Regions from separate parts of the Homo sapiens genome. Here all the other regions are linked to region 3. The links are contacts of gene promoters, found by promoter capture Hi-C in human tissues and cell types (Jung and others, 2019). All regions are on one chromosome and are shown on one strand. The core of a region is centred on a gene start or on the middle of the fragment in contact, and the rest is flanking DNA. Distances in the headings are between cores, read along the strand shown.

The links. Contacts are between HindIII fragments. The study calls those that stand out against the background at their distance.
Region 1: a fragment that was not itself captured here is called in contact with the fragment with the promoter of ZNF69 in region 3 in 1 of the 25 tissues and cell types used here (dorsolateral prefrontal cortex).
Region 2: a contact is called between a fragment that was not itself captured here and the fragment with the promoter of ZNF69 in region 3, in 2 of the 25 tissues and cell types used here (dorsolateral prefrontal cortex and pancreas).

Annotation. Positions count from the first base shown.
Region 1 is chr19:12,314,380-12,317,894 of GRCh38, reverse strand. It overlaps ZNF563 (zinc finger protein 563), which reads left to right. Exons shown (of 4, transcript NM_145276.3): 4 at 1-418. Among named protein-coding and RNA genes, the nearest start is that of ZNF563, 17 kb to the left of the region's middle. The HindIII fragment of the contact is 6,161 bases long and covers 1-3,515 here.
Region 2 is chr19:11,582,595-11,586,157 of GRCh38, reverse strand. It overlaps LOC124904638 (a long non-coding RNA gene), which reads right to left. Exons shown (of 2, transcript XR_007067140.1): 2 at 2,494-2,741. It also overlaps the pseudogene GAPDHP76. Among named protein-coding and RNA genes, the nearest start is that of ACP5, 6.7 kb to the right of the region's middle. RefSeq lists enhancers at 2,064-2,123, 2,134-2,273. The HindIII fragment of the contact is 7,524 bases long and covers 1-3,563 here.
Region 3 is chr19:11,885,675-11,889,038 of GRCh38, reverse strand. ZNF69 (zinc finger protein 69) reads right to left here and starts at 1,257. Exons shown (of 4, transcript NM_001364730.1): 1 at 1,053-1,257. The coding sequence starts at 1,115. RefSeq lists an enhancer at 1,011-1,060. The HindIII fragment of the contact is 10,336 bases long and covers 1-2,459 here.

The DNA.
Region 1 (3,515 bases), core at 493-2,992, 430 kb before region 3:
TATAAATGTGTGAAATGTAGGGAAGTATTCTTTAATGTTATTTCATTTCAGATAGAAATAATTCTCATTGGAGATAAACCCTATGAATGTAAACACATAGTAAAGCCTTAATTTTAAGCCTCAGTTTCTTTCAAATACAGTTATCCCCTAATATTTGCAGGAGCGTGGTTCTACCACCCCCTGGGCATACATAAATCGACACATGCCAAGTCCTTTTTTAAAAATGACATATTTGGTACAAAATTACCCGGATGTGATGGCACATGCCTGTAATCCCAGCTACTCAGGAGGCTGAGGCAGGATAATCACTTGAATCCGGGAGGCGGAGGTTGCGGTGAGCCAAGATCGCGCCACTGCACTCCAGCCTGGGCAGCAAGAGCAAAACAACCTCTGTCACACACACAAAAAAAAAAAAAAAGGAAAGAAAGAAAAGACATATTTGGGTTAGACACAGTTGCTCACCTCTGTAATCCTAGCACCTTAGGAGCCCAAGACAGGTGGATCACTTGAGCCCAGGAGTTAGAGGCCAGCCTGGGTAATGTGGCAAAACCCTGTCTCTACAGAAGATACACAAATTAGCCAGGTGTGGTGACATGTACCTGTAGTCCCAGCTACTAGGGAAGCTGAGGTGGGAGGATCGCTTGAGCCTGGGAGGTTGAGGTTGCGGTGAGTCAAAATCACATCACTGCATTCTAGCATGGGCAACAGAATGAGACCCTGTCTCAAAAAAATAATAACAATAAAAAATATTTGCATGTAACCTACCCACATCCTCCTGTATACTCTAAATCATCTGTAGATTAGTTAAAATACATCATGCATCATAGAAGCTATGTAAATAGTTGTTATTATATTGTTTAGTGAATCATGATATGAGAAAGACCCTACACATATTCAGTACAGACCCACCCACATAATACATGTCACCTAGAGCATTATAAATCTTTTCTTTCAACACTCATAGATTGCTTTTGTTTAATGACCTGAAAATGTGTTAACATTCACCCAACAAAAGTGTAATGATGATTATTGCAATATCGTGCCTAATGTTGTGATGTGTTGAGTCAGCTAGATGTGTGACACCACAGATAAGCAGTGAGACCTCAGGCTAACTCGAATCTTGACAGGATGTCAACATGATCAACTATATTGGAAGAAACAGATTCTGACTGCAGATACTGAATTTTTGGAGCAGTCTAAATAATACTAATGTCAGAATCTGTTCAATTTGAGGACTGAAGATCTTTAAGCATTGAAGGCTGTCTTCATATTTGCAGATATTTAATTAGAAACATTGTAGGAAGCTAGTTTTTTTTTTTTTAAACTTTGCAACGTTTGTGAGCATGTAATCTCTGGGGTGACATGGAGGCTTTGTTCCATGGAAGAATCTTAATTGAGGATGATAATCTTTAACACTTGCGCCTTGTAGAAGCTGTAGGTGCCCTAAAACTGCTTCCAATTTTTCTTTTTTTTTCTTTTTCTTTTCTTTTTTTTTTTTTTTAAGACAAGATCTCACTCTGTCACCCTACAGTGCATGGCTCACTGCAGCCTCAACTTCCTGGGCTCAAGTGATCTTCCCACCTCAGCCTCCCAAGTAGCTGGGATTATAGGCACACATCACGATGCCTGGCTACTTTTTGTGTTTTTTGTGGAGACAAGGTTTCACCATGTTTCCCAGGCTGGTCTTGAACTCCTGGAATCAAGAGATCTGCCTGCCTTGGCCTCCCAAATTACTAGGATTACAGGGTGAGCCACCACACCCAGCCTTCAGATTTTTCAAGTATCAAAATCTATAGCACTGCTTCTTTTTTTTTTTTTCAGACAGAGTCTCACTCTGTCGCTGAGGCTGAAGTGCAGTGGTGCAATCTCAGCTCACTGCAGCCTCCACCTCCCAGGTTCAAGTGATCCTCCTGCATCAGCCACCTGAGGAGCTGGGATTACAATCTCAGCTCACTGCAACCTCCACCTCCCAAGTTCAAGTGATCCTCCTGCCTCAGCCACCCAAGTAGCTGGGAATACAGGCATGCACCACCATGCCCAGCTAATTTTTGTATTTTTAGTAGAGACAGGGTTTCGCCATGTTTGCCAAGCTGGTTTTGAACTCCCTGTGACTTCAAGTGATCTGCCTGCCTTGGCCTCTCAGAATGCTGGGATTACAGGCATGAGCCACCACTTATGGCACTGCCTCTTTATTTATTTATTGAGACTGAGTCTCACTCTGTCACCCAGGCTGGAGTGCAGTGGCACGATCTCGGCTCACTGCAAACACTGCCTCCTGGGTTCAAGCGATTCTCATGCCTCAGCCTCCCAAGTAGCTGGGATTACAGGTGCCCGCCACCACACCCAGCTAATTTTTGTATTTTTAGTAGAGACGGGGTTTCACCATGTTGGCCAGGCTGGTCTTAAACTCGTGACCTCAGGTGATTCACCCGCTTCGGCCTCCCAAACTGTTGGGATTACAGGCGTGAGCCACCACGCCTGGCGGCACTGCCTCTTCTAAATCTACATCATCATCATCATCATCTATAGAGGATTTCAGCATATCTTCTAGTTCCTTGTTAGTAAAGGTTTCTTCTTTGCTCTTCTGTGTGTTCCTCAACATTGTCTTCACTTGTGTCAGAGATAGCCTTCCCCACCAACTTTCCTTACATTTAAGATATTTCTGACTATCATATCGATAGTGCAGAAGCGCCTGAAATCATTGACTTCCTCACTCCATAATGGCTTCCAACACACTTTGGCTGTCTTGAGCTGTAGGGCATTTACAGCCTCCGCAATAAACACAATCGTTTCTGCAGTTGGGAAGCTCTTCCATAAATCCTGTATGACATGGTGAGGGTTATTATCAAGACAGCATAAATCCTTCCAAAAGTCCAGTGGGTGTAAGACACCTTGAGGCACTTGATGATGCTTTGATCAAGTAGTTGTAGCAGTGATGTAGTTTTAGGAGGCAGGAACATCACTTCCCCATTTTTATCGGCATAACAGAGAGAAGAGAGATGCCAGGAGCGTTGTCAGTTATGAGGAGGGCCTTGAGTGGCAGCCCCTTCTTTTCAAGGTATTCATTCACATCAGGAATGAAGCAGTGGTAGAACCAAGTCCTCGTGTGTTTTTGTCAGGACACGGGCAGGCAAGTTTCGCTTTTGTTTTCAAGGACCCACGGATTGTTTACTTAGTAGAGGAGGCTTTGTTTGATCTTATGACCTGCTGCATTGCCACGTAGCACCAGAGTAAGGCAATCTTTCCAAGTCATGAACCCCAAGGCTTTCTTTGTACTCTTGTGATGAAGGTACAATTGGGCATCCTCTTCCAGAACATGCCTGATTCATTACAATGGAGGATTTGCTCTGGAAGTTAGCCTCTTTTTTTTTTTTTTTTTTAATGAGTTTCATGAGCTTTTCTAGGAATGCTGATGTTTCCTTTGCATCAGCCAAGGCCAATTCTCCCATGTTCTTCAAGTTCTTGAAGCTCTAATGCATTGTGTAGCTAGCTAAGCCAGACCTTGCTGGCCTGAA
Region 2 (3,563 bases), core at 3-2,502, 300 kb after region 3:
GACTACAGATACACCCCACCATGCCTGGATAATTTTTTTAAACTTTTTGTAGAGACAGAGTCTTGCTATGTTGGCCAGGCTGGTCTTGAACTCCTAGGCTCAAGTGATCCTCCAACCGCAGCTTCCCAAAGTGTTGGGATTACAGGCATGAGTCACTGCACCTGGCCTCCATCCCTATTTAAAACAAAAAAAGAAAAAAGAAAGAAAGAAAACCAAACCAAACCAAAAAAAAACGTTGTCACGGATGACCTTGGCCGGAGGGTAAGCAGTTGGTGGTGCAGGAGGCATTGCTGACGATCATGAGGTTTTTGTATCTCTCATGGTTCATGTCCATCACAAACATGGGGGCATGGGCAGAGGGGGCAGAGATGGTGATCCCTTTGGCTGCCCATCCTAAGCGAGCCCCAGCCTTCCCCATGGTCGTGAAGATGCTGCTGGTGGACTCCATGACATAACCAGTGCCAGCATCGTCACCCAATTTGATTTTGCTGGGATCTGGCTTCTAGAAGATGGGGATGAGATTCCCATTTCCTATTGATGACAAGCTTCCCTTCTCTTTCTCAGTCTTTTCTTTTCTTTTTTTTTTTTTTTAAGAGAGAGAGGATCTCCCTATGTTGCCTAGGCTGGTCCTGAACTCCTGGTCTCAAGTGATCCTCCCACCTCAACCTCCTAAGTAGCTGAGATTACAAGCATGAGCCACCACACCCAGCCCACTTCTCAGCTTTGATGGTGCCGCGGAACTTGCCGTGGGTAGAATCATATTGGAACATGTAGACCATGTAGTTGAGGTCAATGAAGGGGTCATTGAGGTGACAACATCCATTCTGCCAGAGTTAAAAGCAGCTCTGGTGCCCTGGTGACCAGGCACCCAATATGGCCAAATCCATTTACTCCTGTCTTCACTTTCACCACGGTGTCTCGGGGACATGCCTTTTTCACTGCATGAAAAGATGTGGCTGTCTGTCAAATGGGAGGAGCAGAGAGGCTCTGCCTTTTTAATCTTTAAGAAAAAAAATTCAGGCTGGGCATGGTGGCTCACGCCTGTAATCCCAGCACCTTGGGAGGCCAAGGCAGGCGGATCACAAGGTCAGGAGATCCAGACCATCCTTACTAACATGGTGAAACCCCGTCTCTACTAAAAAATACAAAAAATTAGCTGGGCGTGGTGGCGGGCACCTGTAGTCCCAGCTACTTGGGAGGCTGAGGCAGGAGAATGGCGTGAACCCGGGAGGCGGAGCTTGCAGTGAGCCAAGATCGCGCCACTGCACTCCAGCCTGGGTGATGGAGCAAGACTCTGTCTCAAATAATAATAATAATAATAATTTAGATGGGGTCTCACTGTGTCACCCAGGCTTGTCTCAAACTCCTGGGCTCCAGTGATCCACCCACCTCAACCTCCCAAAGTGCTGGGATTACAGGTGTGAGCCACCACACCCGGCCTATTATTATTATTTGAGACAGTCTTGCTCTTGTCGCCCAGGCTGGAGTGCAGTGGCACGATCTTGGCTCACTGCAACCTCTGCTTCCCGGGTTCAAGCGATTCTCCTGCCTCAGCCTCCCGAGTAGCTGGGATTACAGGTGGCTGCCACCACGCCCAGCTAATTTTTTTTGTATTTTTAGTAGAGATGGGGTTTCACCTTGTTGGTCAGGCTGGTCTCAAACACCTGACCTCAGGTGATCCGCCCACCTCAGCCTCCCAAAGTGCTGGGATTACAGGCGTGAGCCACTGCTCCTGGCCCTGTCTTTTAATTTTTAAAGGGTAGGGGGCACCATGACCCATCTTTGCCCACCTAAACCACCTATTCAGCAGCCCATGCCCCGCAGCCCACAGCTGGGGGACATCATGCAAAATCTAAGTCAGATCTGTCCCTCTGATCAGAACCCTCTGTGGCTCCCACCTTACCCAGATAAAAGCCCCCTTCCCTGCAGCCCCCAAGAGCACACGCAACCTGCCCCACCCACACCCTTCTCTGTTCCTTGCCCTTGACCTTGCAGACTCAACCTTCCGGATTCACTTCCCCCTTGCTCACTCTGCTCCAGCCACAAAAGCCAATTTTTGGTTCCTCAAATCAAACTAACTCATGACAGCATTTTGAATTTTGAAGCCTTGGGGCCCCGAAAAAGTCCATCTTTTTTTTTTTTTTTTAAGATCGAGTCTCACTGTGTTGCCCAGGCTGGAGTGCGGTGGTGTGATCTCGACTCACTGCAACCTCTGCCTCCCTGGTTCAAGCAATTCTCCGGCCTCAGCCTCCCAAGTAGCTGGGATTACAGGTGCTCGCTGCCATGCCCAGCTAATTTTTTTGTATTTTAGTAGAGAAAGGGTTTCACCTTGTTGCCTAGGCTGATCTTGAACTCCTGAACTCAGGCAATCTGTCTGCCTCAGCCTCCCAAAGTGCTGGGATTACAGGCGTGAGCCACTGCGCCCGGCCCAAAAATCCATCTTTGTGGGTTCCTTTGTAAATGTGTAGTCAATTTAGAAATTTAGAAACACGGTTTCCCTTAAGCCTTTATTTAGTTACAATCACAACTAACATGTTACTTATACACCTGGCAAAGTGAAACATCAAAAAATTAATTCAGGGCCTGGCCTCAGGCCTGTAATCCCAGCACTTTGGGATGCCAAGGCAGACGGATCACTTGAGGTCAGGAGAATCGCTTGAACCTGGGAGACGGAGGTTGGGACGAGCTGAAGATCACACCACTGCGCTCCAGCTTGGGTGACAGAGTGAGTGAGACTCCATCTCAACAAAAAGAAAAAGAAATATCACTTTAAGAGGTCATTGGATGCATATTTGGGTCCGTTTATAAGTTTAGTGGATTGAAATTAACATTTTACATTTTATAAGTGTGATGCATTTTATTCTATACTCTTTTACTACTATAATAATAATTATTATTATTAATTTTTTTTTTGAGATGGAGTCTCGCTCTGTCACCCAAGCCGGATGGAGTGCAGTGGCGCGATCTTGGCTCACTGCAAGCTCCACCTCCCAGGTTCATGCCATTCTCCTGCCTCAGCCTCCCGAGTAGCTGGGACTACAGGCGCCCACCACCACGCCCAGCTAATTTTTTTGTATTTTTAGTAGAGACGGGGTTTCACCGTGTTAGCCATGTTGCTCTCGATCTCCTGACCTCGTGATCCGCCCGCCTCGGCCTCCCAAAGTGATGGGATTACAGGCGTGAGCCACTGCGCCCGGTCAATTATTATTATTTTTTAGAGACAGTGTATCAGCTCTGTCACCCAGACTGGAGTGCAGTGGTGCAATCATGGCTCACTGCAGCCTCGACCTCCTGAGCAATGCTCCCACCTCAGCCTCCTGAGTAGCTGGGCTACAGGTGCACACAACCACGCCCAGCTAATTTTATTTTTAAGAGATGAGGTCTCTACAAAAAGTGTTGGGATGACAGGTGTGAGCCACTGTGCCAGCTTATTCTTTAATCTTTTAATTTATTATTATTATTTTTTGAGACAGAGTCTTGCTCTACCACCCAGGCTAGAGTGCAATGGTGCGATCTCAGCTCACTGCAACCTCTGCCTCCCGGGTTCAAGCGATTCTCCTGCC
Region 3 (3,364 bases), core at 8-2,507:
CCACCTGTGCCTTCTAACCCCCCTTCCACAGGTCCCGCCCTTTCTGTTTTTTGTTTTTGTTTTTGTTTTGAGACAGAGTCGCACTCTGTGCTGAGGCTGGAGTGCAGTGGCACTGTGTGGGCTCACTGCAACCTGTCTCCTGGATTCAAGTAATTCTCTTGTCTCAGCCTCCCGAGTAGCTGGGATTACAGGCGTCCACCATCACGCCCGGCTAGTTTCTTTTTTATATTTTTAGTAGAGACGGGGTTTCACCATGTTGGCCAGGCTGGTCTTGAACTCCTGACCTCAGGTGATCCGCCCGCCTTGGCCTCCCAAAGTGCTGGAATTACAAGCGTGAGCCACCGTGCCCGGCCAGGTCCCTCCCTTTCTGCCTAAGGAAATTACACCTTCCAGGCACTAATTCATGATTTTCCCTGCAATTCCTGTCTCTCTAAAATGAATAAAACCAAACTGTCTTGAGCCGCCTCGGGACCACTTACTCCAGGCTTCTTGGGGTTGTTTTTCCCTCGGCCAAGGTCTCTCCTATTCGGCTCCGAATAAACTTCTTTATTTTACATAGTTTGGCTTTTTCCGTTGACAAACCACAAGCCAGGACTGGGTGTGTCTCATTCGTGAATCGCTGTTTGCTCAAATGAACTCTTTGTTAACGTTCCTCAGTTTAATTTTTAACAGGAGAAAAAGTGGACACTGGGGGCCCCACAGACCGCTGCTCCTCCCAAGCACGAACCCCACACCCGAGTCGGGATCACCCACATGACCCTCCCGTGGCCCCCGCACAATCTGGGTAGACGCGTGGCTGCGGGCGCGGAGCTGCCCATAGAGGGCTCTGGAACCGCAGTCGCCGCGCAGAGACGAGACAGGACGCCTGGTGTCCCGGCTACCGGCCCAGCCACACCGAGCAGTCGAGGGGACCGAGGGCCGAGCGGCTCCAGGAGGACTCGGTCCCAGATCCCAAAGTCGCCCGCAGGAAAGCCAGGGTCTCGCCACAGTCGGTTCCGGTCGGTCCAGGCAGCCCCTCCCCCGTCTCACGACACCCGGCCCCAGACACGCACCATTTCCTGGCTTTCAGATGTCCCGGGGTCCTCTCTACACCTCCTGTGACTACAGCAGGGCATAGCGTAGGTGACAGAGTGACAGAAGCCTGGGCAGAGGAACCAGGTCCCTCTCGGGGCTGGAAAGACCGGATCCCAGCCGCAGCCCGCGCAGGGACAAAGGTGAGGTAAGGAATGCGACCCCCTCAGTGTCTGGAGGAACAGTGGGCAGGGACCCGCCACAATGCCTCTGATTGGATGGAATGCTAGGCCCCGCCCCCCATGTCTGAGTGACAGCGGAAGCCCTGGGTATCGGGCCCTGCAGAGCCAGACAGACGGATTCTGACCACAGCTTTTCCAAGGGCGAGCTCCTTCCTGCACTCTGGTTATTGGATATTTGCATTTCAGCCAAACTTGCTATTGATAGAGGAGAACACTAGCGTCTTCCTCACTCAAGGGACTGTCCCTGCTCCTTCGTTCTGCATGGGGTCACAGGAGTGTGCAGGGAATTTCAGATTCAGTGTCCACAGGAGCCATCTCCTGCCTCAGAGCAGCAGGGGAACCGAGACCAGGCCAGACACGACTGCGCCAGGAGGAGAGGCATATGTCTTGGAGCGGGCCGCAACTGGGGATGAGGCATGGCTAAGACTTGCTCTCACACCCCCATCCCCTCCTCACAGTGTGAAAATGCTTCCTCCTTCCAGATCTTCATTTTCACCAGCAGGAAACTCTCTCCAGGGGTTAAGTTAAGCTTTTGACCTAAATAAACTGCCAACTTCATGAACCCTTTATCCAGGTGACGCTCCCAAACATTTCTGTCTCTAGCCTGATCTTCACACATTTTCTTTTCTTTTTTTTTTGAGACAGAGCCTCGCTCTGTCCCCCCAGGCTGGAGTGCAGTGGTGCAATCTCCACTCACTGCAACCTCCGCCTCCTGGGTTCAAGTGATTCTCCTGCCTCAGCCTCCCCAGCAGCTAGGATTACAGGCACATGCCACCGCGCCTGGCTAATTTTTTGTATTTTTAGTAGAGACAAGGTTTCACCATGTTGACCAGACTGGTCTTGAACTCCTGACCTCAAGTGATCCACCCGCCTCGGCCACCCAAAGTGCTGGGATTACAGGCGTGAGCCACCGCGCCTGGCCCACATTTTCTTTATATATATGAATATCTCTGTCGGATATAAAATGCTTTAGGAATAAATTCTTGGTCCCACGAAGTAAAACTAGCACTTAGGGGAAAGTTTCATTTGTTTAGCAAGGCAATTTACTTCTGCAGAAGTGTGCCACTTGTGTCAATCAAGATCACAAGAGCACAGAGAACAAAGGTCACCGGGGGTTTTTTTATCCTTAATGCGGTCCCTATCTCTGTGTCACTCCTTCATGGGCTGGGGTTCGACCACACAATCTGAGCTGACCCGACTGGCTACTTGTACGTATTTTTCTAAATATAGAAGGAGAGGGGAACGTGAGGTACAGAGATGGAGCGTGTGAGACGTGCAGTTTCGGGGGAACAATGGGTACAGGTAACCAAGGGAACAGATGTGAGTTATTGATTAGAGCTGACGGGAAGGGGGTAGGCTGTTTTACAGTAACTAGGGGCAAGGAGGAACAGGAAAGTTGAGCTGGAGAACAAAAGACAAGGAAGTTAGCAGGCTAAGTCTTTGAAGAGAAACTCAGAGAGGCCAGGCGCGGTGGCTCACGCCTGTAATCGCAGCACTTTGGGAGGCTGAGGCGGGTAGATCACGAGGTCAGGAGATCGAGACCATCCTGGCTAACATGGTGAAACCCCGTCTCTACTAAAAAATACGAAAAATTAGCCAGTCGTGGTGGTGGGCGCCTGTAGTCCCAGCTACTCGGGAGGCTGAGGCAGGAGAATGGCATGAACCCAGGAGGCAGAGCTTGCAGTGAGCCGAGATCACGCCACTGCACTCCAGCCTGGGTGACAGAGTGAGACTCCGTCTCAAAAAAAAAAAAAAAAAGAAACTCAGAGAAATTTACTGTATGTTACAATTCCTCCCTTTTAATTTTCTTATGATTTTTTCTCTTTAAACTTTTTTAACGTGTTTTGGCTTTGCTGTTTGATTTGATCTTTTAAAAGGAAAAGCTTACTTGAATAAGGTGGAGGAGAACTAAGGGAGGTTTCAGTAAATGCTGTTCGTACAATCCTTTGTATTAGCCTACGGATGCATGGTATGACACAACGCCTAACAAGAATAAGTACACCTGTTACGACTGTAAAAGAAATAAGTATTGAGGCTATGATTCTTTATTGACTGAACTACTTTCCTAGCCATCTTGAAATAGGGTCATTGACTCCAGAAATTTTAGCTAA